Regions from separate parts of the Homo sapiens genome. Here all the other regions are linked to region 2. The links are contacts of gene promoters, found by promoter capture Hi-C in blood cells and fetal thymus (Javierre and others, 2016). All regions are on one chromosome and are shown on one strand. Each heading gives the region's core, a stretch centred on a gene start or on the middle of the fragment in contact. The rest is flanking DNA. Distances are from core to core; before and after follow the strand shown. Region 1 has its middle 42 kb from the start of RSPH1. Region 2 holds the start of UMODL1-AS1 (UMODL1 antisense RNA 1). Region 3 overlaps PRDM15 (PR/SET domain 15). Region 4 has its middle 24 kb from the start of RIPK4.

Region 1 (5,844 bases), core at 2,918-5,417, 350 kb after region 2:
CACTTGAGGTCAGGAGTTCGAGACCAGCCTGGCCAATGTGGTGAAACCCTATCTCTACTAAAAATACAAAAATTAGCCAGGCATGGTGGCAGGCACCTGTAATCCCAGCTACTCAGGAGGCTGAGGCAGGAGAATCACTTGAACCTGGGAGGCGGAGGTTGCAGTGGGCCGAGATCACACCACTGCACTCCAGTCTGGGCGGCAGAGTGAGACTCCATCTCAAAATAAATAAATAAATAAAAATAAAAACTATCATAGAGTTAAAAAGTAAAAGGTAAGCTGGGAAAGCTCTGTGCTTCTCATGCCGCCCAGTTCCAGCCCACCCCCTCCAGGAAGCCCTCCTGGCCGCCAGCCCACCTTGCTGCCCCTGAATCCCAGCTCAGGCGTCCTCTGCACAATTCATGTCAGTCGTGTCTGCCTTGTCCTGTTGTTGCGGTCTCTCATCGTCTTGTCTGTCACTCCTTCCCAGGGGTTGCAATAGTGACCGTGTGCCGGGCTTCCAGGCAGCCCCAAGTCCAGTGGGACCAGTGACCCCCCTGCAAAGCTTCTCTGCTCCTATAGGCCAGGATTTCCCAGCCTTGGCACTATTGACATTTGGGGCCAGATACATCTTTGTCAGAGGACGCCCTGTGCATTGTGGGATGTCCAGCAGCATCCCTGGCCCTCCCCTACTGAAGCAGCAGTACGTCCCTCACCCCAGCCCACCAGTTGTGATAAACAAAGATGTCTCCACATGCTGCCAAATGTCCCTGGGGGAGCAGGATCATCCCCAGCTGAGAAGTACCGATGTATTCCCTTCACAGGTCTGCATGGAACCCTGGCCTCAGGGCTCCCACCAGGGCACTCAGGCATAGCGCGAATGGGCACAGGTGTGTTAGGAGTCTGGAGTCGCACATGTGCACTCCTGCTGAGCAGACAGACCTTTATGGAGACGAAGGTTGGAAAGGAATCGGTGCACATCTCGAGCTGAACACTTGTGTGATGCTGCTACGGAGGAAGTCCGAGCAGAACTGGAACTTTGCGGACACTGCCCCTGGACGTAGGTGTGGGCCTGGGCAGGGGGAGCCACGCGGAGGTGCGACCAAGTCCTGCACGGACCTCACTGCCTCCGTGTGATGTGGTGGCTGTGCTGTGAGGGCAGCTGAGCCCTGTGTCCAGCCTCGTAGTCCTCTTGGCTGGCCCCACACTCAAATTCTAGAACATTTAAGTGCAGTGCACCGTGGACACCACGAGGCTCCACACTGTTGGACTCCAGTCCTTTAGCCCAGCTGGGAGCAGCCCTGACACAATAATTCTTCAACAGAGGCTTCTCCTTAACCCTGTCTCATGCTTCTCCTCTCCCCTCATCCCCAAGGCCGACAGATGGTGGCTGCACACACATTCAGGAGATTGCAGGAAATAATTTCCAACAGCAAATGAGACATTAATTATTCAATGCAGATAAACATCAACAACAGCGCTTCATCCAAAGGAATTCCACTGGGATCCAGGGGCTCTGAGTTGGAGCCCAGTTCGGTCCTCTACTCATGGTGACCTCAGACACAGTCTCTGTGTCTCGGGCTCACTGCTGTAAAATCATGCGGCCTGTCGATGGGTCCATGTCACTTGCAGCATCTTAGTCCTCATTCTGGAGGACACGTGCCCTCTTAGCAGTGAGCCCTGGAGGGGCTGACTCGCAGTGTCTGCTGTGTTTTCCAGTTTCCATGATGTAAATGCACCAGGGCTGATTCTGGGCTGCCAGTGTTTTGACAATTGATTTGCAGACTGCGTGAAAATTTAAAACTCAGCTCTCTTGAGCTGATATGAGCCACCCCAGCCCACCCCTGCAGCAGGCACGAACGTTAGTTTGCAGGGAGAGGCCAGCTGAGCTGCTGCACAGACCTGCTGGGATCATCACAGCTGTGCGCTTCAGGCCAGTGCCTCTTCCTGTAAAAGGAAACAACATTCTCTCTACAGAGGATGGAAGGACAGAAGGGCTGAGGCCCATGTGCAGGCGGGGTCAGGAGAGAGAGGAGGCCAAGTCCCTGGGTCTAGGAAAGACGGGTGGGTGGAGCCAGGCCAGGGGCACTAAGTGGAACGCTGTCTGCTCCCTGCGGAGCACTGGACAGACTTTTGGTTCCAGGGATTCATCCCGAGCTGTGTCTCTTCCGGGATCCTTGGCCAGCAGCGACTCTGGCACCTGGAGCACACCTGAAGAGAGCCCCCAAGCTCTCGCCTCTCTCCAGCCCTGCTATCCAACCAGATGTTCCCACTCCTGCTCCTCCCTGCCTCATCGCCTCAGCCGCCCGGGGTGAGCCACCTACTCTCCCAAGGCAAGACACAGCCGGCATGCTTCACACACTCACCTTGAAGTTCAGGGTTGGAAGGTCAGTCCATCCAGCTGAAGTTCACTGCTAGAGATGTAATTGAATCAGCCCTGGCAGGAGCATTTGGACCACAGGAATAGGTAAACACGGCTGCGAGTCAGCCCCTCCAGGGCTCACTGCTAAGAGGGCACATCGTGTCCTCCAGAATGAGGACTAAGATGCTGCAAGTGACGTGGACCCATCGACAGGCCACATGATTTTACAACGGTGGGCCCGAGGCACAGAGACTCTGTCCGAGGTCACCATGAGTAGAGGACGGAACTGAGCTTTAACTCAGATCCCAGTGGAATTCCTTCGGATGAAGCGCTGCTGTTGTTTATCAGCATTGAATAACTAATGTCTCATTTGCTGTTGGAAATTATTTCCTGCAATCTCCTGAATGTGTGTGCAGCCGCTGTCTGCCGGCGCGTGGGGGGTTCTTCATGAAAAGTGAGAGGGGTCCAGCTGTGTGAAAGGCCTTTGCAAATTGCCACAGCAAACTCCCAGAATTATGATGTACTTCTTCCTGTGTGGTTCCAAGTAAATGCCACTTCCGGCTGTCCAGTACCATTTTTTCCTAGGACTTAAGGCCACAAAAATGGATTAAGAAACACACATGTATACATGCAATCTTCCTGGTGAAGTCTTCAAACAAAGTTCTCCAAGAAGTCATTAAAAAATTAATCATCTGGAAATGTCATGTTTCTCCTTCTCTCTCCAAAATGTATTTCTTTCAACCATTAACTCATTCTCTTTCATTGTGTCCCATAGTGAGACAAAACTGTGTTAGGACAATAAACCAAGCAATTTTCCAAAGAAGCTATAGCACGAAAGCAACGTAAATCCCGAAGGAGAAACGCCTGCGAATGAGCTCACCGAAGGCACACTCTCCTCCCAGGAGCCTCCCCGGAGAGGCAGCCCGTTTATTTGAGTTAGTGATTTTGGAAGACACACTGCACTTTCTTTGCCTCCAGCTATCCTTGAGCCATTTTGTTCTCCTTGCGAGGTACTGATAGCACTTATTATCTAGAAAATATAACCAGACTTTGAGGAGAGGCAAGGGGCCCTATAAATTATTTATTTTTTTGCTTCTCAAACTCTGGACCGAGGACCAGGATTACAGGCATTGCCTGGAAGCTTGTTACAAATGCAGGGCCTCAGGCACCCCCGTCTCCGTGTCAGCAGCTGTGTCTTAGCAGGATCCCCAGGGCATTGCCTCACAGTCAGGGTGGTGCAAAAGTCCCGCCTGGCATCCTGGTGAGTGGACCAGGAGGGGGCAGGTGAAGGCGATATTATTGGTCCTTCGACTCCAGACAAGAACTTGCAGCTTAGCCTGAGGAAAGAAATTAGCCCATATGATGAAACACAATCTGATGACGTAAGGATTTTTGTACTTATGCCCACATGTTTAGACATGGCAGCCCGCATCCTCTTAAACCTGAACTTTAACATACCGTGACTTAGAGCCACAAACAACAAAACAGAGGGCAGGAACCAGAGTTCTCCAGAGAAACAGCCAGTGGGAAACAGGACCCACATCCATACGGATACAAACATACAGATACAGGCTGGGAGAGGGAAGGAGAGAGGGGCATTGGCTCACACTCTTACAGAAGCTGAGAAGCCCCACGATCTGCGGGAGCTGTTGGCCTCCCGTCTGGAGGCCAGTAGGCTCGAGACCCAGAGAGAATCGATGTTTTCATTCAAGTCCAATGGCAGGAAAAAGCCAATGCCTCAGTTCAAAGGCCGTCAGACATGAGGAGTTTCCTCTTAGCCTTTTGTTCCATTCAGACCTTCAACTGATTGGATGAGGCCCACCCACCCTGGGGAGGGCCGTTTGCTTGACAGTCTCCTGATTCGAATGTTCGTCTCATTCAGAAACCTCCTCACACACCCCCAGAGTGACACTGGGTCAAAACGTCTTTGCACCCTGCAGTCCAGTCAAATTCACATGTGCAGTTGAGCTTCACATTGGGCATTTCTGCCCTGGTAATGTCCTCCCATTACCAAAAACCTGGTATTTGTCCTTCTTTTCAGTGGGTTTCACAGCCCAGCAGCAGCTGGCCCTCTTGTAGAGCAGCAGTTCCCAGCCTTTTGGCACCAGGGACAAGTGTCGTGGAAGAAAATTTTTCCACAAACCAGGGTGGGGTGGGGGTGGGGAATGGTTTTGAGATGATTCAAGTGCAATTACATTTATTGTGCACACTTTATTTCTATTATCACGTTGTAATATATAATAAAATAATTATACAACTCACCATAATGTAGAATCAGTGGGAGCCCTGAGCTTGTTTTCCTGCAACTAGACAGTCCCATCTGGGGGTGATGGGAGACAGTGACAGATAATCAAGCATTAGATTCTCATAAGGAGCTCACAACCCAGATCCCTCACATGCACAGTTCACAGTAGCGTTCACAGTCCTATGAGACTAATGCCACCACTCATCTGACAGGAAGCGGAGCTCAGGCAGTAATGAGAGCAATGGGGAGTGGCTGTAGATACAGACGAAGCTTCACTTACTCATCCACCCACTGCTCATCTCCTGTTGTGCAGCCTGGTTCCCAACAGGGGTTGGAGGCCTCTGTTACAGAGGACCCTCTCCTGACCGCCAATGAGACCCATGAGCTCACCGTCTTGTCTGCCCTTCCACAGCCCACGCTCCCTCCTCAGCCCACGCCCCCTCCTCAGCCCACACTCCCTCCTCAGGCTCAGCACTGGGAAGAGTTCGTCCTTCCTCACCTCAGCCCTCAAGTGTGGAGTCCGGCGCCTCAGTCATCCACTCAACAGACATTTATGAGGGAATGTTTGGGTGCCATTAACACTGCTGGGAAAGCAGCAGTGGATCAGATACAAGCTCACTCTCAAAGAGCTTATATTTCAGTGGAAGGTGGTGAGCAATGGACTAATAAGCCAGTGAACACGTAACACCTCCTCTGCCAATACGTGAGGTGAAGAGAAGACAGCAGAGAGGGGGACAGAGGCGGAATACAAATGTTATGTTAGCAGTGAACAATCAGTAAGTAAAATAAAAACATCACTTATAGTAGCATAAAGAAACCAGAAGCAAAAGAGGATGTACTGCATGATTCAATTTATATACAACTATTTAGAGACAAATCCAATCTGTGGTGACAGAAAGCAGCACATCAGACGCTTAATGCTGGGAGTAGGGGAATGGATTGCAAATGGGCACGAAGATATTTTCAGGCTGACGGGAATCTGTGTGCTGATTGTAGGGTGGTATATTAGTCTGTTCTCACGCTGCTAATAAAGACATACCTGAGACTGGACAATTTATAAAGGAAAGAGGTTTAATGGACTCACAGTTCCACATGGCTGGGGAGGCCTTATAATTATGGCAGAAGACGAAAGGCACATCATACATGGCAGCAGGCAAGACAGAGAATGAGAGCCAAGCGAAAGCAGAAGCCCCTTATAAAAATCATCAGATCTTGCAAGCCTCATTCACTACCACGAGAACAGTATGGGGAAAACTGC
Region 2 (6,417 bases), core at 76-2,575:
TGAGGGTCATCACTGGGCTTCTATGAGGCACCGCTGTGAACCCTCTGCACCGACCTTAGCCAGAGGAGCAGGACTCCCACCGGCATCCTTCTGCGTAAGAGGCCTTGTGGGTCTTCTGGGGCTCTGGAATCAACGCCGCTTTTCCTGGGGCCAGAGTAGGTGGAGCTGAGCTCCCCAAAGCTTCCAGTTTGCTGCCTGCTCCCACCCGCCTCGCCACTGCGCGAGCCCTTTCCATCCCCTCTGCAGAGTGAGAGAAGGGCCGTGAGTGAGGATCCTGGCCTAGGGCTGTCACCATCCCCCTCACCTGCTGGCCAGGCTAACCTACTGCAGGCTGCTTCCTTTCCTTAGGTTCACGGGTACCGCTATTTGTCCAGCGTCCATTTGCGGTGGCATTAGGATGAGGTGCTCTGTGCCCTCTTTCTCCCAGTGTGAATCTGACACACGCCCCCAGGAGAGTCCGAGGGGCATCACTTCTGGAGGACGCCCTGGGCCCTGAAAGACAGCTCATGGTCCAACTGAGGAGCCTGCACCTTGCTGGGACAGGGTGGCCCAGGAGATCTGGGGTCTGTACCTGCTCCTGGACCCTCTCCAGCTTGTTGTTCTGGGTGGGGCCAGCTCAGGAGGGGCACCTGGGCTGGGAGTCTCTGAAGCAGCTGCCCCCATTGCTCCAGGAGAGGGCTCAGCCCTTGTCCCAGCTGCGGGGCCAGTGGGAGCAGTGTGCAGCGTCCTGCCCTGGGCTCTCGCTGGCTCTGCGCCCTCGCCTGGCCAGCCCGGGAGGGTGCAGAGGCTCACTGGCAGCTCTTCCTGCTCCCACACCTGCCTCTTCCTCTGAACTGGAGGGCCGGCAAGCCTCAAGGCTTAATGCAAGACTAAATACAGCTGTCAGCGCCTTCCTCTGAGCTCGCTTGGGAGCTGTCTGGGGGGACGGAGGAGTGAAGATTAGGTGAATCACCACGCCCCAAAATAGACATCAGGTGCTTGGTGGTTTGAGCCAGCGTCTTGCCTGGTGCCTCTGCTGTCCTCCGTGGACTGCAGCCCAGCCAGCCTAGGCTCCAACCCCAACCCGGAGCACCCCCAGGAGAGTTACCTGTAGGCTGGAGGTTGAGTAGCACCCCAGGAAGAGGTGTGGGTTGGCACCAGCAGTGTTCTGATGGCAAGGCAGCCCCCAGGCCATGCTAGGGTGGTGGCATAGCTGTTGTGGCAGCTGACGAGCTTGCTGTTCTCCAGGGAAGCTGCTTCTGTGGAGACCGCAGGAAGCACAACAGAAAAAAACCCACAAAACGAGCCTCAGAGCACTCAGCAGCAGGGTTTTCTTTGCCCAGAACTGAACTGGTCCTGCATCGTGGCTTAAATTCCACCTGAATTGGAACTTCTCTGGCATGCCGGGTGTGGGTTCGTTCCCGAGCACCTCCACCCGCAGCTCTACAGAAGCACGCGCAGAAGGCACTGTCACCTCCAGCAGGGCCTGGCCCTGACGACCTCGGCTCAGCCACCCCATGGGAGCTACATTGTCCTTGTCCTCACCTTCATTCCCCTCAGGCGGGCCCCCCGGTGACATGACATCACAAGTCTTTGGGCACAGGAGGAGGGACATACCTGTGGAGACACCCGGGTGCTCTAGAATATGGCGCGGGAAGTTCATGTTGTACTCCGCTGGACCCCACCCCCGGCGTGGGAAGTTCATGTTGTACTCAGGCTGACCCCCACCCCCCCCACGAGAGAAGTCCATGTTATACTCAGGCTGACCCCCACTCCTGGCATGTAAAGCTGGTGTTATGCTCAGCTGGACCCCCACCCCCGGTGTGGAAAGCTCATGTTATACTCCACTGGCCCCCACCCCCGGCGTGGAAAGCTGGTGTTATACTCCGCTGGACCCCCACCCCCGGCGTGGAAAGCTGGTGTTATACTCCGCTGGACCCCCACCCCCCATGCGGAAAGTTCACGTTATACTCAGCTGTGTCCCCACCCCTGGCTCAGTTACTTTCCTATTTCTTGGTTGAGACACTAAGTATTGGAGAATGTTGGCACATCAAAGAGAGAGGAGAAAACATTTCAAGTTTTGGGTGTGGAAACAGAATAAAGAAGAGAGGGCTACATGCACACCCATGGGTGCTAATATTTAAGGAATGAACATTTCCTAATCTTTGCCCCCAAATAAGCCAACCAATGTGAAGGTGGGCACAGGCAGGCCGTAAGGTTGTCATGAGAGTGTTGGACGGATGCCCCAAAATGCCCCTGCTCCCGGCCGTTCACTGCAAAGACGGCTAGGAAGGACTCCTTCCAGCATGGGTCTGTCTTCTGATCACTCTTTGGCTGTTTTCTCATGGGTTTTGATTGTGTCTCCCCCTGGCAGACTGGGACGAGTGTGTGGACAGCGCGGAACACGACTGCTCACCGGCTGCCTGGTGCATCAACCTGGAGGGCTCCTACACCTGCCAGTGCCGTACCACCAGGGACGCCACCCCCTCCCGCGCAGGCCGGGCCTGTGAGGGTACGTGTCGACCCCCCTGCCGACTCTGGGAAGACCCCCTGCCCGAGAATCTGGGGGTGGGGCAAAGCCCAATTCTCCATAGGCACAGGGCTGAGGACCTATGGTAATGTTAGGGGCCTACAGAAATGTTTTCATTTCAATTTATTTTAAAATCAGAAGAAAGAAATTAATAGAAGGATAGTAAATATACATAAAACAATGAATCTAGCTTGGATTACACTCATCTCTATCTAAATGCCATTATAAAATGTAATTTTTGATAGATTGTTAAGTGGAGGGGTGCAGGGGTCCATGAAGGCCAAGTTCCTTGGGCCCACAGAAGTCAGGATGCAGCCCGGGGTCGAGGGATTCCTTCCCCAGTGGCCTGGAGCCCGAGAGGGTGTGGCCTGGAGCCCGAGACAGTGTGGAAGCCCAGAGAAGCTGCAGAGAGGCCCGATGGGGGCCGCTGAGCTCTAGTCCTGCTGTATCGGCCCCCAGTCTTTTCTGTGGACCAGTTCTGATGAGTGGGTCGGGGATACCTGGGATGCTGAATTGAGCAGCAGGAGGAGGCCACGTAGGGACCTAAAATGCAGTGACTGATTAGCAATGTCGGCCCGGACACAGGCGTGGCAGAGGCGCCCAGCCACTGGCTTGCCAGCCCCTGCTGAGGGCTTTCTAGCTGGAAGGAGCAGCCGAGACCAGTTCCCTGGGGAGAATATTCCTTAGACACTGCGTGTGCTGTCCTGCTTCCTAACATCCCACACCTTGTCTTCTGTTTTTCTCATTCGCCTAATGTCCTGCAAGTCGATGACAGCATCCAGCACCAAGTCCCACATTGAGCACAAATCTGGGGGAAATTGTCCCATTTTCCCAGAGTCCTGATGGATTAATCTGAGGCCTATGAGAACCAAGCCCTGCATTCAAGCCCGGGTTTTGTAGCCCCCCGGGTGGATCCCTCACCCTCAACTTCAGTTTCCTCATTTATCCAGTGGAGAGGCGTGATTTGCCTTCAGAGAGCCCCGGGGAGGCTGCAAACATGGGCCCAGGAAACACTCCTGAACGCTGGCGCCCGCCTGCGTCCCTGGCCAGGTCCACTCCGGGATGCAGAGCAGTCCTGCTGGACGGCCATGCTGCCCTCCTGGGAGGGCTCTTACTCGTGGGTGGGATCCAGCAGGCTCTGACAGTGGATGTGTCTTGGCAGGTGACCTGGTGAGCCCCATGGGCGGTGGACTGTCTGCGGCAACAGGGGTAACGGTCCCAGGTCTTGGCACGGGAACAGCAGCCCTCGGCCTAGAGAACTTCACCTTGTCACCCAGTCCTGGGTACCCTCAGGGCACCCCGGCAGCAGGCCAGGCCTGGACCCCAGAGCCCTCACCCAGAAGAGGGGGCAGCAATGTGGTCGGGTATGACAGGAACAACACAGGAAAAGGCGTGGAGCAGGAGGTGCCCAGCACTGCCCCGGGTCTGGGGATGGACCAGGGGAGCCCCAGCCAGGTGAACCCCAGCCAGGGGAGCCCCAGCCAGGGGAGCCTCAGACAGGAGAGTACCAGCCAGGCGAGCCCCAGCCAGAGGAGCACCAGCCAGGGGAGCCCCAGCCAGGTGAACCCCAGCCAGCGGAGCACCAGCCACGCGAACTCCAGCCAGGGGAGCCCCAGCCAGGGGAGCCCCAGCCAGGAGAGCCCCAGCCAGGGGAGCACCAGCCAGGCGAGCCCCAGCCATAGGAACACTATCGGGGTGATAGGCACCACCTCCTCCCCGAAGGCTACTGGGTCAACCCACAGCTTCCCTCCTGGGGCCACAGATGGCCCACTGGCCCTCCCTGGACAGCTACAGGGAAACTCCATCATGGAGCCACCCTCCTGGCCTTCCCCTACTGAGGACCCCACCGGCCACTTCCTGTGGCATGCCACCCGTTCCACCCGGGAAACACTTCTGAATCCCACGTGGCTGCGAAATGAGGACAGTGGACCCTCCGGTTCTGTAGACCTGCCATTGACCTCCACCCTCACAGCTCTGAAGACCCCCGCCTGTGGTGAGTTCCTCGAATGGTGCATGGGGACTAGGACTAATAGGACCCATAGCCTGTGTGAGCCTCTGGGGCAAAGCTCCTGCAGCCGTGGAGTCGCAGGCTGCTAGCAATGCTCAGGCGGCATCCTCATCTTGTGCGTGTGGAAACGGAGGCACCCAGCAGCTGGTTTCTAGTTGAGTTAGGAAGACAGCTTGGTCCCCTTGCCTGTCCCAGATCTCTCTTCCCCATCTCTTAGGGCTCCCTGTCTGCAGCAGCTGGGGCGGAGGTCTGCCTTCAGGAGCAGGCTTTGGGCCTTACTTGTCGCGTTAGGTGCTGGAGCCATCCCCTGAGGTGTTGCCCACCCCCGCTGTCCTGCCTCCTAGCAGAACTGTGTCCCGGCCCCGATCAGTGTGATGACACCCCCACAACAACTCTGCACCCTCCCAGTAATGCTGCACTCCCATAGCTGTTCTGCACCCCTCAGCTGTTCCGTCACCCTGCCAAGCATTCTGCAGCCCTGCAGCTGCTCTGCACACCAAGGTGTGCTGCACCCCAGCTTTTCTGCACCCCCGGCTCTTCTGTACTCCCAGCTGTTCTGCACCTCCCCAGCTGTTCTGTATCTCCCCAGCTGCTCTGTATCTGCCTAGCTGTTCTATATGCCCCAGAGATTCTGCATTTCCCCAGCTGTTCTGCACCCCCAGTTGTTCTGCATCTCCCCAGTTCTTCTGCACCCCCAGCTGTTCTGCATCCCCAGCTGTTCTGTATCTGCCCAGCTGCTCTGTATCTCCCCAGCTGCTCTGTATCTGTCCAGCTGTTCTATATGCCCCAGAGATTCTGTATCTCCCCAGCTGTTCTGCACCCCCAGCTGTTCTGTACCCCCAGCTGTTTTGTACCTCCCAGCTCTTCTGTATCTCCCCAGCTCTTCTGTATCTCCCCACTGTTCTGCACCTCCATAGGTGTTCTGCACCTCCCCAGCTGTTTTGTGCCCCCTCAGCTGTTCTGCACCCACAGTTCTGTAGTTCCCCAGCTGTTCTTCACCCCAGATATTGAACCTCTGCAGATGCTCTGGATTGTCAGCTGTTCCGTACCCCCAGTTGTTTTTTTACCCCCTAAGTGTTCTGTACCCCCATCTGCTCTACACATCCAGAGTTCCTGCACCCCCCAGCTGTTATGCACCTCTAGTCATACCGTAACCCCCAGCAATTCCATGTTACTTGTAGAAGATTTAGCCATCACCAAACCCCCAGGTGACATCTCAGGAGATTCACAGCAGGAATCTGTGCAGGAGTTGGATCTCAGCCGTGACAGCCCTGTGAGCTTGCAGAGCTAGCCTGCCTCTGGATTTCATCCAAATGAGCTGTCAAATGTGATCTTCCTCAATGCATTTCCTCTGCTAAGCAGCACAGGCTCTAAGACTAAACTCTTAGCCCATGTAAGTCAGTATTACCGAGGGACCTGGGGTCTTCCTGTAAGAATGGCTCTCTAGCCAGCATTGTCACCAATGTCAACTCCTAGTTGGACCCTGGGTAAATCCACCCAGGGGTCAAGAGTAGACAGTCCATCTGAGGCGCCACCAAGAACCTGCTCAAGAGGCCTTCATTTTGGGGAGTCCAGGGGCCTCAGGGATGTATATGAACCATCTGCTGAAACAAAACAAAATCAGAAGCCATTTGCTATCATCCCAAGGAGGGGCAAGGATGCAGGCCCAGGAAGCCCGGGCTTGGGAGGTTTGTACAGGATCCTACTCACCCATCACCTCGGCGGCCATCACCTGCAAATCGCTCATGTCCCCATGGTGATGAATTTGATTTTTGGCATTGGGCGAGGCTTCTTTTCTCCTAGAAATGGCTTGATTGTAATTTTGGTGTTTATATTCCACTTCCCAGTTCCTGTCTCCATTGGGAGGATCATGGTCTCCAATGTGACCAGCACCGGCTTC
Region 3 (6,380 bases), core at 168-2,667, 280 kb before region 2:
CATTCTCCTCCCTGTGTCGCCAACGTGGGAGGACATGACAGCTGGGTGACCCAGGAGCGGGGCACCAGAGCAGACTGCACTTCTGGGCCCCTGGGCTCTCACCCATGGACCAGCTCCCAGGCTCAGTGTTTGCCAAATATACAAATCCCCAAAACTGCACTGAAAGCTGCCATTTGTGCAAAGCAGCCGCCCTGCGCCTGTCCCTCTCTGCTGCCCGAGGGAGCCGCCACAGAGTGTCTCAGGGTCCCCCTGTCTAGGGTTTCCCTGCCTCAGCGTTTTGGGCCAGATCCTTTGTTGTGGGCCACCCTGTGCACCGTGGGATGCTGAGCAGATACCGGGCTTCCACCCAGTAGGTGCCAGGAGCACCCCTCCCCACCAAGGTGTCTGCAGACATTGCCGACAGCGTCCCTTGGGGCAAACGCCCTCCACTCTCCACCCCCGCCAGGTAGAGATTCACTGGCCAGGGCTCACAAAATGAGACTCTCTGGGGTGGGCCTTGGGCCTCCGCATGTGTCTGGCCTCACTCAGGTGATCCCAATGTGCAGCCCAGGTTGGGGGTGAGGGAAGCAGACAACCTCCCCCGGGAGAGCCAGGCGCTCTCAACTCCTCCCAGCTGGGAATGGACAAGGCATGGCCGACAGCGAAGACAGGAGACAGCAGTGGGGAAATCTATGCCCCATGGGTGCCACCCTCAGGACAGGGGAAGCGCTGGGAGGGGACAGTCCCCTCCCACAGCTCCAACCACGGCAGGACAGTGGGAGGTGGCCTCTGCCAGGGCTGAACACAGTAGAGGTGGCCCTGTGCGAGGCTTCTCTGCCCACATCCCACCCCACCTGCAGCGTGACCTCAGCCCAGAGCCAGCCTCACCTGGGCCATAAGAGGAGCACCGTGACAGATGCTACGCTGAGTCCCAGCCTAACATACTGCTTGCCTTCCTTCTATAAAGTGAAACATTATCCATACAGCCACTGCCCTCAGTTTCGTTTTGGCTTAAGATTTGATGGGCTCTGTCCGGATCCACACGACCGCATGGTATGTGTCCTTCACACACTGCGTCTGAGGCGTGCGTGTTTACAGTGCTGGACGTTTTCATGATCACTTTAATGGCTACGTGATATTCCATCCAGCTCACTTCTCAAAACTCACTTTGCTATTTTTGACACTGTAGATAATTTAGTGATGGAATCTTTAGTAATGCAGATTTTTTTCTTCTGTCAAATCTCTTTATCATGAATTCTTAGGAATGGGACCACTAGAGCCAAGCGCTTTGTGAAAGGCCACACCTTACAGCGCTGTGGCATCAGATTGCCACAGGCCACACCTTACAGCACTGTGGCATCGGATCACCACAGGCCACACCTTTACAGCACTGTGGCATCAGATCACCAGAGGCCACACCTTACAGCGCTGTGGCATCGGATCACCACAGGCCACACCTTACAGCACTGTGGCATCAGATCACCACAGGCCACACCTTTACAGTGCTGTGGCAACGGATCACCATAGGCCACACCTTTACAGTGCTGTGGCATTGGATTGCCACACTCCCCTCAACCTGGGCCTCCTGAACAGCATAGGTGAGCCTCCCTCCCAGCCAGGCACTAAAGAGCACAGGTGAGCCTCCCTCCCGGGCAGGTGCTAAAGAGCACAGGTGAGCCTCCTTCCCAGGCAGGTACCAACCAATACAAGTGAGCCCCCCTCCCAGGCAGGTGCAAATCAGCACCCATGAGCACCCCCTCCTGGGCAGGTGGCTCCACTAGTCCTGCCGCCCCGTGGAAGGCAATGGTGCTGCCAAGAGCTTCAGCTTTCTCCCTCACAAGCCCCTCGTGACCATGGAAAGAGAACCTACTTCAGGCCACTCCCCAGCTGTCCCGGACAACTCTGCCAAGCCGAGGGTGGCTTCTCCCGCAGCCACCCACTCACTGCCAGTTCAGGAACCCACAGGGGCACTGGGTCCCAACAATGCTTCTCCCTCCAATAACCCTGCGCCGAGGGGATCTAGGTTTATGTCTGAATAAATGAGCCACTGAGAACAGCTGCCTACTGGGGTCTGACGAAGGGAGAGGGGTGCAGGGCACCTGGGGATGGAGAGGGGATTATTGGGGGAGGCTGGTGGGCCGCATTTTGCCTGAGGGCCTGGACGTGAGCCTTTGCTATTCCGTAGCACAGTACTTATGGTCAGACACAGCACAAGGAACACGAAGATGAGTTACACCAGCACCTGGTCACACCACAAGGGACAGGCACCACAACAGGTCCCATGGAGGGAGCTTCAGAAAAACCCACAAGACTGTAACATTTTAAAACTGCCCCCCACACCCCTCTCCAGGGTGTGCTATGAGTCCTCGAGAGAGGGTGACACAAAGGCAACAGTGACCCATCCCTCTGTGCCCCGCTGGGGACCCCCACTGCTTGGGCCTCCAGTGCCACCCACCACTGGGAATGGGGAAGGCGTGACTCCCACATTCTTGGTTTAATTCTTGGTACAAATTCTTGGTTTAATTGTCTAAGGAAGATACACATTCTCTTAACTTCAATACTATAAATAAGTATAAGAGCATGCAAATCATATATTATGCAAACAAGCTCCATTTCAAGGTTTTTATCCTTTCTGTTCAGTCTAAAACGGGTAACCTTTGAAACTAGAACATCTCAGGGGAAGAGGTGGTGCGATGCAGGTCCCTGGCGCTCTGCGGGTTCTAGGTGACTAACAAAGGCCAGCACCTGGCCTAACAGCACCTCTGGCTGACAGGAAGCTGCTGCTGCCTTAGCCGCTTCTAGTACTTTGTTTTATTTGGGTCCAGAGAAATAGTTGAAAATATCAGAGGGCAATGCCTCTTCCTCAACCTTGAGTCTGCCTCACCAGAGCGCCTTAGCTGGTAGCATCACTCTTGGGAACCCCGAAACCCTCGCCTGCTACACTCCTGCAGGACTGCGGGGACCCCAAGGGGAGGTTCGCAAACAAGATGAAGGTTCATCTGTCTGGCCGGGGCTGCGTTAAGTGGAAGTCTTCAGGGGACTGTGCCCCAGGTTTCTTGGGAATTCTTGTGATAGGAGGGCTTAAAATGCAGGAGGTGCGGCACACTGGAAATTCATCCAGAAGCTTCTGGAGGCCACCTCATGCCAGACATGGATCCTTCAGAGCTGCTAAAGCTTAGGCAAAACATGACTCATTCCTGCCCCTCAGAACAGTCCAACCCCAGGAAGAAGGCATCAGGGAGGAAGAACCAAACCCTGGTTTCAAATAGGAGCCCTCAGAGTAGAACTAGCCAACCCCACCAAGGGCCCCCCGCGCCCAGCAGCTACGGCAAGGGAGCAGGGCCTCTCACATGGCCCATGTGCGACAGCCCTGGTCAGAGCCCCTGGGAGTCCGCTGCTGCAGGTGCCCTGTTCTCAACACAGGGGCGGGTGGCACCTTAACAAGAACAACACAGAGATGCAAGTGACAGACACAGAGCAGGCGGACAAGGACGGGGTGGGCGTCGAAGGCTAACCTGGTAGGTCTCTAAGCCGACTGCCGCCGGGCCCCCCCTCTCCAGGGTGTGCTATGAGTCCTAGAGAGAGGGGGACACAAAGGCAACAGTGACTCACCCCTCTGTGCCCCGCTGGGGACCCCCACTGCTTGGGCCTCCAGTGCCACCCACCACTGGGAATGGGGAAGGTGTGACTCCCACATCCCAGAGGGTGCACGTCATCACTGCAGAATACAGGGGCGTCCTCGGGCCACGTGGAGAAGCGCAGCCGGCAGGACGGCCTTGGCTTTCCTTTGGTCTGTTTACTTGCCAGCAGCAAATTCGGCCAGAGAGACAGGGGCCTCAGACGCCCCCCAGGCCCGAAGAGGCCACCTCTCCACTACAGGCTGGTCCAGGCACACCCGGCTTCAGGCCTCACACAAGGAAAATGCTTTATTTTTGGAAGCTGGTGCACACAAGCAGGCTCAGAACAAAAAGAATGCGTGCAGGGGCAACCCCGTTCCACCCTGGACGCCGCAGGAGATGTGGATGGAGGAGGGCTCGCGGTTAGGAACAACCTTTGCAAGCAAGCGAGGAGCGCTCACACTCCTCCAGCCATTATCCTGATCTTTTCCTTTCTTCCTCAGACGGCCCTAGAAAACATTGGACACTGCTGCTCCCTGTTTTTAGCCAGAACGGACCCCGGCTTTACAATGCTCTCAGTGTGGGGCCATACGCAGCTCGGCTGACAAATGCAGGAAGAAAATCAATCCCTTTTTACTGGAAAGTTTCCATCTGTGTATCTTTAGGGTAACAACTGCTTTGAAGCAAAATGGACAGAGGGAAATGTTAAAAGTGAGGCTGTCTATTCATGAAAACAATCTTTACTTTGGCCTAAAGTTCCACGGTCTCCGCGGCGTATCTAGAATCCGTACCGCACAGCGGCCGAGGGGAGACGTGACCGGCGCCCTCACCTGTCCTGCAGTTGTGGAACTCCAGCGCGCTCTCGATGCGGAAGGTCTTCTCACAAGTGCCGCAGCGGTACCTGTACTCGCCGTCCACCTGGTCAGAGGGACACGCCGTGAGTGAGATGGCCCAGCGCAGAGTCCACAGATGCCGAGCCCCCGACGTGCTGCCCGGGCGACTCCACGCCTGTGTCTGTTATGACTCTGACCTCCACCACCCTCCCGCTCTATTTAGGAACACAAAGGATGTTTGCTCTTGCTGTTCACCTGCCCTAGAAAGGGAACTCCACACTCAGGGAGCCCCACTCCAAGCACCAAACACCCCCATTCTCCTGACTCTTCCTGCTGCGCTTGTGGGCATCTGACCAGGACGAGGGGCTGACAGGTGGCCCAGGGACGCCAGGACACCCACAGCCTTCACCCGCTCTCATCCCTCCTGGGACTCTCCCTTCTCAGGGACACCTGGGCACCCACAGCCCTCGCCCACTCTCCTCCCTCCCCCACAGGGTTTGGCCGCTCTCCTCCCTCCCCCACAGCCCCCGCCCACTCTCCTCCCTCCCCCACAGCCCCCGCCCACTCTCCTCCCTCCTGGGATTCTTTCTTCTCATTACAACATGGTGATTTGGTCAGTTGTCTGTGTTGTCCACACAACTGGGAAGAGAACCCTGGGCTTGTTTCCACCCACCTCGTTCCTGCTGTGCTTGTAGGAAACGTGCTGCTTTAGGCTCTCTTTGCGGCTGAACAATTTTGCACACTCTTCGCACTTAAACAGCTTGTCACCTGAGGAACCAACCAACAGAGAGCTCATTCACTACTTAGAGCATTTACCGAGAGAAGCATGCCCACCGGGGAAATGCCCCACAAGCCGCCTCGCTCCCACCATGCGAAGGAGCTGCAGAGATGATCGCCCACAAATGCAGCCTCTCACTGGCGCAGCTCGTGGGAGACGACCCAAGGAGGGGAGACTCCGTGCTGTCCTCCCACCCCCAGCCCCAGTCCTGGCCCTGGCCCCGGGCGCCAGCCGGGCCTCGCGGACTCACCATGCGAGCGCACGTGCCTGCTCAGGTTGCTGCTGTTCTGGAAGATCTTGCTGCAGATATTGCACTGGTAAACCCGCTTGTGCTCCCCGAGCTGTTTGATGAGCTTGCGCCGGATGCCGTGTCTGCTTGAGAGAATTAAGCTCCTCTTGAGCGTGATGGTGTTATTCTGATGATGGGTGAACCTGCCCAGGGACGTCAATAAGTTGGGAAAAGACAGGTGGGAAAAAAGTTCCAGGTTACAAGCAGCATGAAAACGGCCTCCTTCCAAAACTTCCCAGCTAATCCCGAGCCTGTATGCGAGAAAGGAGGGAATGCGCCCGGGCGTCACTCCCAGCTTCCAGGGCATCTGAAAGGGACACCTTGAATATATAATGACATTAGGCAGCTTTAGCTGCAACAGCCACACACCTGACTCTGTTCTAACTCTGGCCACCAGAAAGCCTGGAGGTCAATTTGTGCCTCAATTAGAATAACCACACCTGTTTTCTGCTCCTGTCACTCTGTCTTAACTCTTCTCTGTTTTACATATTATCTGAACCTGATTTTCAAAACTTCTTTTCCCTGTTAAATGTATTTTTGATGGTAAGCCACCTGAACTCTTCTGGGCAATAAGATAAAGTATAAATAAATAAACAGGTAACATCATTTCTGATATTACTTTTGCCAACTATAAGAGGTGATCCGAAAAGGGCCAAAAAGAAGTGACCACCAACTTACTCAACTCCATGGTAAAAATGACCCAAGAATCGTAACTAAAACACAGGGCAAGCTGTTATATTTACTGAAATTCAAATAGCAAAGTATTTTACCACAGCAGCGTCACGAAAGCTAGAAGCAACCCAACTGTCCATCAATGGATGCATGGAAACACAAAATATGGGGCATATGCATGATGGTATATTACTCAGTGTTGAAGGAAATTC
Region 4 (5,611 bases), core at 2,049-4,548, 320 kb before region 2:
GGAACACATTTTAGCTCTGTTTCTAAAGCTCTGGACACTAAACAAATCAGTGTCCAATCTACCAAGTGGAGAACCACCTGCAGTAAAAAGATCTTAGCTTGGGAGACTAAGATACGAAGATACTTAGAGCATGTGACATGGGTATTTTTTTCACTGTGGTATTTACTGGGAGTTTCCACTGTTTTTTAATTTTATCTATCAAGCCTCTCTAATAGACTGTCCCAAGCTGGGCACCAGAAGGTTATATAGGAATGGTTGGGATGTATGGGGACAGTCCAGGGAATATGATTGTTTAAAACCAAATAAGGCACAGTAATACACCGCTAGCTTCTATATTTAAATGCCAACATGTACCCAGGGGGCATCAGAATGTACTACAATTTTAGACATGAGATTTACATAATGATGTCAGATAAATGCCTTTTTCATTTGCTATTTCCATTATGTAATCATCGAGCATAATAAAGATCACTTGTCATAAAGAACCATTTTCTACTGGACAGTTACATTCCATTAATCATTAAGGTAGCATGGAGAATTAAAAGGCTTGAATAATCATGTTTTACCATTTGCTGAAAAGGGACAACAAATATAACTTAATGAACAAAGTTGAAGAATTCATTAGTGATCTTATTAATAAGAGTGAATCATTGGAGATGAGGATTTTCGAGGCTCATGAAGACTTGAAAATTTCAAGTGATAATTCAAACTGGATAGAACACTTTCAGCTATTGGTTTGAAGCTTCAAAGCTTTGATGGCTAAGGAAGTATGTCTTCCAACAACACCTAGACCCAGAAAAAACATGGTTAACAGTAAAAGATGTTGGGAGCCTTTTCTCCCCATGGTTCATCCGAACTGGGCAAATTCTTTCTCTTATCTCTCCAAATTATGATCTTAATTGTTAAATTTTTCTCTTAGAATACAGCATGAATAATTTGTACAACCCGTACTACACAATACTAGTTACATGGAAAATACAAACCACATTTTAAATGATTTAACATTGGTTATAAGGCAGTTCCACAATTATTCCCCAGAAACCTATACACTGATCTTCAATTCTGTAATCTGACTCCTGGGCATTTATTCCAGAGAAATGAAAACTCATGTACACAAAAATATTCACACAAATATTCATAGCAACTTTGATTCAGAATAGCTGCAAACTGGAAACAACCCAAAATTGTCCTTCAATGGGCTACTGCCTAAATAAACCATAGTGTACCCGCATAATGGTCTCAGCAATGAAAAGGAATGAACTGTTGACACACCCAGCAACTTGGGAGCATCTCCAGGGTGGAGATGCTGAGTGGAAAATCACAAGGTCAGAAGATTGAGACCACCCTGGCCAACATGGTGAAACCCAGTCTCTACTAAAAAAATACAAAATTAGACGGGCATGGTGGCGCACACCTGTAATCCCAGCTACTCAGGAGGCTGAGGCAGGAGAATCGCTTGAACCCGGGAGGTGGAGGTTGCAGTGAGCTGAGATTGAGCCACTGCACTCCAGCCTGGGTGACAGAGGGAGACTCTGTCTCAAAAACAAACACAAAAGAAAAAAAGGAAAAACCAATCTCAAAAAGTGATACATTTGGTATCTTGACGTGGGGCAGATAAACAGACCAACACAATGATACACCAGCATTGTATAGAATCTAATACACACACAAACACACACACAGGGTATAAATGAAATCTGAATAAGACCAGTGGATTATATCAAAGTCAAATCTAACTGTGATCTAGTACAATAGTTTTTCAAACTGTTACCGCTGGGGGAAACCAGACAAAGTATAAGAGATCTCTCTGAATGATTTTCGATAACTGTATGTGAATCTACTATCTCAGTAAAAGTTGGTTTTATGTGATCTGCTATCTCAATAAAAGTTTCCATTAAAAAATCATGGTTTTGGGAGGCCAAGGTGGACGGATCACCTGAGGTCAGAAGTTCGAGACCAGGCTAGCCAACATGGTGAGACCCAGTCTCTCCTGAAAATACACAAATCAGCCGGTGTGGTGGCACGCACTTGTAATCCTAGCTACTCGGGAGGCTGAGGCAGGAGAATCGCTTGAAGCTGGGAGGTGGAGGTTGCAGTGAGCCAGCATTGTGCCACTGCACTCCAGCTTGGGCAATGGAGTGAGACTGTCTCAGAAAAAAAAAAAAAAAAAAAAGCATGGTTAACATGTAAAGAATAATACCTTGATAGACAAATATACCATATTTTTTAAAGTTATAGAATGTATGATTCCATTTTATATAACATTCTTGAAATGACAAAATTATAGAGGTAGAGAGCAGATGGTGATTGCCTGAGGCTAGGGAATGGGGGAGGGATTGGGGAGGGTAGGGAATGGGGAGGGATCAGGGAGGCTAGGGAATGGGGGAGGGATGGGGAGGGGAGGGAATGGGGGAGGGATTGGGGAGGGTAGGGAATTGGGGAGGGATCAGGGAGGCTAGGGAATGGGGGAGGGTAGGGAATGGGGGAGGGATCAGGGAGGGTAGGGAATCGGGGAGGGATGGGGGAGGCTAGGGAATGGGGAGGGATCAGGGAGGCTAGGGAATGGGGGAGGGATGGGGGAGGGGAGGGAATGGGGAGGGATGGGGAGACTAGAGAATTGGGGAGGGATGGGGAGGCTAGGAAATGGGGGAGGGATCGGGGGCTAGGGAATGGGGTAGGGATGGGAGAGGCTGGAGTGCAGTGGCACAATCATCGCCTACTGCAGCCTTGATCTGCCAGGTTCAAGTGATCCTCCCACCTCAGCCTCCTGAATAGCTGGAACTACAGGCACATACTACACACCAGCTATTTTTTTTGTTTGTTTTATTTTTTTTTGTGGAAATAGGGTCTCACTATGTTGCCCAGCCTGGTTTCAAACTCCTGGCCTCAAGTGATCCTCCTGCCTCAGCCTCCCAAAATGCTGGTATTACAAGTGTGAGCCATCACACATGGCCTCTCGTACATTTTATAGGTCTCTATATTATAAGTCCCATAATACATCATCTTTACTTTTGCTTGACTTTTAAATATATTTAACTGATAAGATAATAAAGTATTTGAATCTACCCACATTGTTACCATTTCCATTGTTCTCTGTGTCCTTGGACAGGTCCAGATTCCCACCTGCTATCACCTTCGCTCTGCGTGGAAGACTTCCTTAAAGAGAACTCGCACTGCAGGCTACTGACACTGAACTCCTTCAGCCTTGTGTGTCTGGAAAAGTCTTTAATTGGGGAGCTGATTATAATCCCCAAAAACACAATCCCAAACACCATAACCCCAAACGCTGAAATCCCAGAAGATCAAACCTGAAAATCACAACCCCAAAAGATCAAAATCCTGAAAATATAATTCTGGAAAAAATAATTTTTAAAAACATTTAAAAGATATTGCAGTTCAGAAACATATCAAAACAGGACTGCACACTTCATAGACCACTTTATACAACAAAATAGGTGATAATAATAACATATACTTTGCAAGCGTAAACACTCAGGTAAACTAATGACAGTCGCACAGGTTATGAGCAGATGAACCACATTCTTTTTTTTTTGAGATGGAGTCTCGCTCTTGTTGCCCAGGCTGGAGTGCAATGGTGCGATCTCAGCTCACTGCAATCTCTGCCTTCTGGGTTCAAGCAATTCTCCTGCCTGAGCCTCCTGAGTAGCTGGAATTACAGGCACATGCCACCACGCCTGGCTAATTTTTGTACTTTTAGTAGAGACGAGGTTTCGTCATGTTGGCCAGGCTGGTCTTGAACTCCTGGCCTCAGGTGATCTGCCCGCCTCAGCCTCCCAAAGTGCTGGGATTACAGGCGTGAGCCACTGCGCCTGGCCAGATGAACCACATTCATAAAGAAATAGGTCAAAACGGAAAGGTAAAAACACATGTCACTATCGGTAATTGCGCACACCCAGCTTTCTAACTGTGGTCATCTGAAATACCAAACGAACAAAGTGTCTTTCAACAAGATCAATCAAAACCCCCGACGGGTCACCACTGCATGTAGTTGCCCAAAGAGCCGAAATCTGGATAAATTTTATCTTTCACAAATGCAAATGTACAAAAAGAACATCTCTTCATTTACTGAGGAAGTTTCAACATTTTCTGATGTCCAAGGCAGCAGAAGAAACGTCTGTCCAAGCTCTCAGAGATAGACCAACTTGCCTTCTGTATTTGTTCTCTCGGGCACCCCAGCTGATTGGATGGTGCCTGCCAGCATTGAGGGCAGATCTTGCTCACCTCGTCCACTCAGACTTGCACAATAATTTCCCCAGGAGACTCACAGACACACCCGAAAGAATACTTTACCAGGTTTCTAGGTATTCTTCAATCCAGGTAAGTTGACATCTAAAATTCAGTCCACATGTGCCAACCCTGGTCAACTTGGCACACATAGGTATCTCATTTGACCATACTTAATTTCCAAATAAAGACAATAAGCTGATAGTTTTACTTAACATGATGCAACTATGCTATGATTGTGATTTTCAGGATTTTACCCTTTAGGGATTTTGATCTTCTGAGATTTCAACATTCGGGAATATTGTGTTCAGGGTTGTGTCTTTCAGGATTATTATCTAAACCCCTTTATTTGGCCTTCTTTTTTGAAAGATATTTTTGCTGGGTATAGAATTTATCCTGACAGTTGCTTTCAATGCTTTCCCTATGTTGCTCCAGTGTCTTCTGGCTTGCATCTCCTTGATGTGAATTTGACGTGTCATCATTATCTTTGTTCCTCTGTATGTGATATGTCTTTCCTCTGGATTCTTCCGGGTTTTTGTCCTTATTACTGGTTTTCAGCAATTTGATTAGTAAATGCCTTAACATAGTTTTCTTCATGATTCTTGTGCTTGGTGATCACTGAGCTTCTCAGATATGTAGTTTTATGGCTTTCGGCAAATTTGACAACATTTTGCTCATTCTTTTTTTTTTTTTTTGAGACAGAGTCTGGCTCTGTTGCCCAGGCTGGAGTGCAGTGGCGCGATCTCGGCTCACTGCCACCTCCACCTCCCGGGTTCAAGCAATTCTCCTGCCTCAGCCTCCCGAGTAGCTGGGACTACAGGCGTGCACCACCACACCGGGATAACTTTTGTATTTTTAGTAGAGACAGGGTTTTACCATGTTGGCCAGGATGGTCTCGATCTCTTGACCTCGTGATCCGCCCGCCTCGGCCTCCCAAAGTGCTGGGATTACAGGCATGAGCCACTGCACCCGGCTTCACTATTTCTTCAGATATTTTTTTCCATCTCTTTCCCTTTTCTTCCAAGGACTCTTCAAAAACTCTAATAACATATATTAGGCTGCTTGAAGTTATCTCAAAGCTCGCTGATGCTCTGTTCATTTTCTCCCTCTTCTTTTTCTGTGCATTTTATTTTGAATAGTTTTTTTTTTATTGCCCTAGCTTCACTGATCTTTTCTTCTGCAATATCTGACCTGCTGTGAATACTATCCAGTATGTTTGTCATGTCATCACTGAAATTTTCATCTCTGGAAGTTCAATTCATTTTGTTTTTAAAAAACTACATCTTTCATGCCTTTAACAGGTTTAATTATTTAATTATTCCTCTAGCTTTTAGAACATCTGAAAAACAGTCATAATTTCTCTTAT

The links. Contacts are between HindIII fragments. The CHiCAGO score rates a contact against its expected background, and 5 or more counts as called.
Region 1: a contact is called between a fragment that was not itself captured here and the fragment with the promoter of UMODL1-AS1 in region 2, in 1 of 17 cell types (M0 macrophages). The highest score is 5.2, in M0 macrophages.
Region 3: a contact is called between a fragment that was not itself captured here and the fragment with the promoter of UMODL1-AS1 in region 2, in 1 of 17 cell types (total CD8 T cells). The highest score is 5.7, in total CD8 T cells.
Region 4: a fragment that was not itself captured here is called in contact with the fragment with the promoter of UMODL1-AS1 in region 2 in 3 of 17 cell types (erythroblasts, monocytes and endothelial precursors); the score reaches 6.1 in erythroblasts.

What each region holds. Positions count from the first base shown.
Region 1 is chr21:42,451,757-42,457,600 of GRCh38, forward strand. No RefSeq gene overlaps it. Among named protein-coding and RNA genes, the nearest start is that of RSPH1, 42 kb to the right of the region's middle. The HindIII fragment of the contact is 1,374 bases long and covers 3,481-4,854 here.
Region 2 is chr21:42,107,209-42,113,625 of GRCh38, forward strand. It overlaps UMODL1-AS1 (UMODL1 antisense RNA 1), which reads right to left and starts at 1,326. Exons shown (of 2, transcript NR_027243.1): 1 at 1,088-1,326. UMODL1 (uromodulin like 1) reads left to right here. Exons shown (of 23, transcript NM_001004416.3): 10 at 2,354-2,491; 11 at 3,672-3,913; 12 at 4,298-4,502; 13 at 6,365-6,417. RefSeq lists an enhancer at 475-594 and a silencer at 571-865. The HindIII fragment of the contact is 14,881 bases long and covers 179-6,417 here.
Region 3 is chr21:41,831,011-41,837,390 of GRCh38, forward strand. It overlaps PRDM15 (PR/SET domain 15), which reads right to left. Exons shown (of 24, transcript NM_001040424.3): 9 at 5,458-5,639; 10 at 5,103-5,197; 11 at 4,427-4,514. Among named protein-coding and RNA genes, the nearest start is that of PRDM15, 45 kb to the right of the region's middle. RefSeq lists enhancers at 2,469-2,538, 3,319-3,438, 5,254-5,961. The HindIII fragment of the contact is 3,368 bases long and covers 1-3,101 here.
Region 4 is chr21:41,788,240-41,793,850 of GRCh38, forward strand. No RefSeq gene overlaps it. Among named protein-coding and RNA genes, the nearest start is that of RIPK4, 24 kb to the left of the region's middle. The HindIII fragment of the contact is 5,101 bases long and covers 749-5,611 here.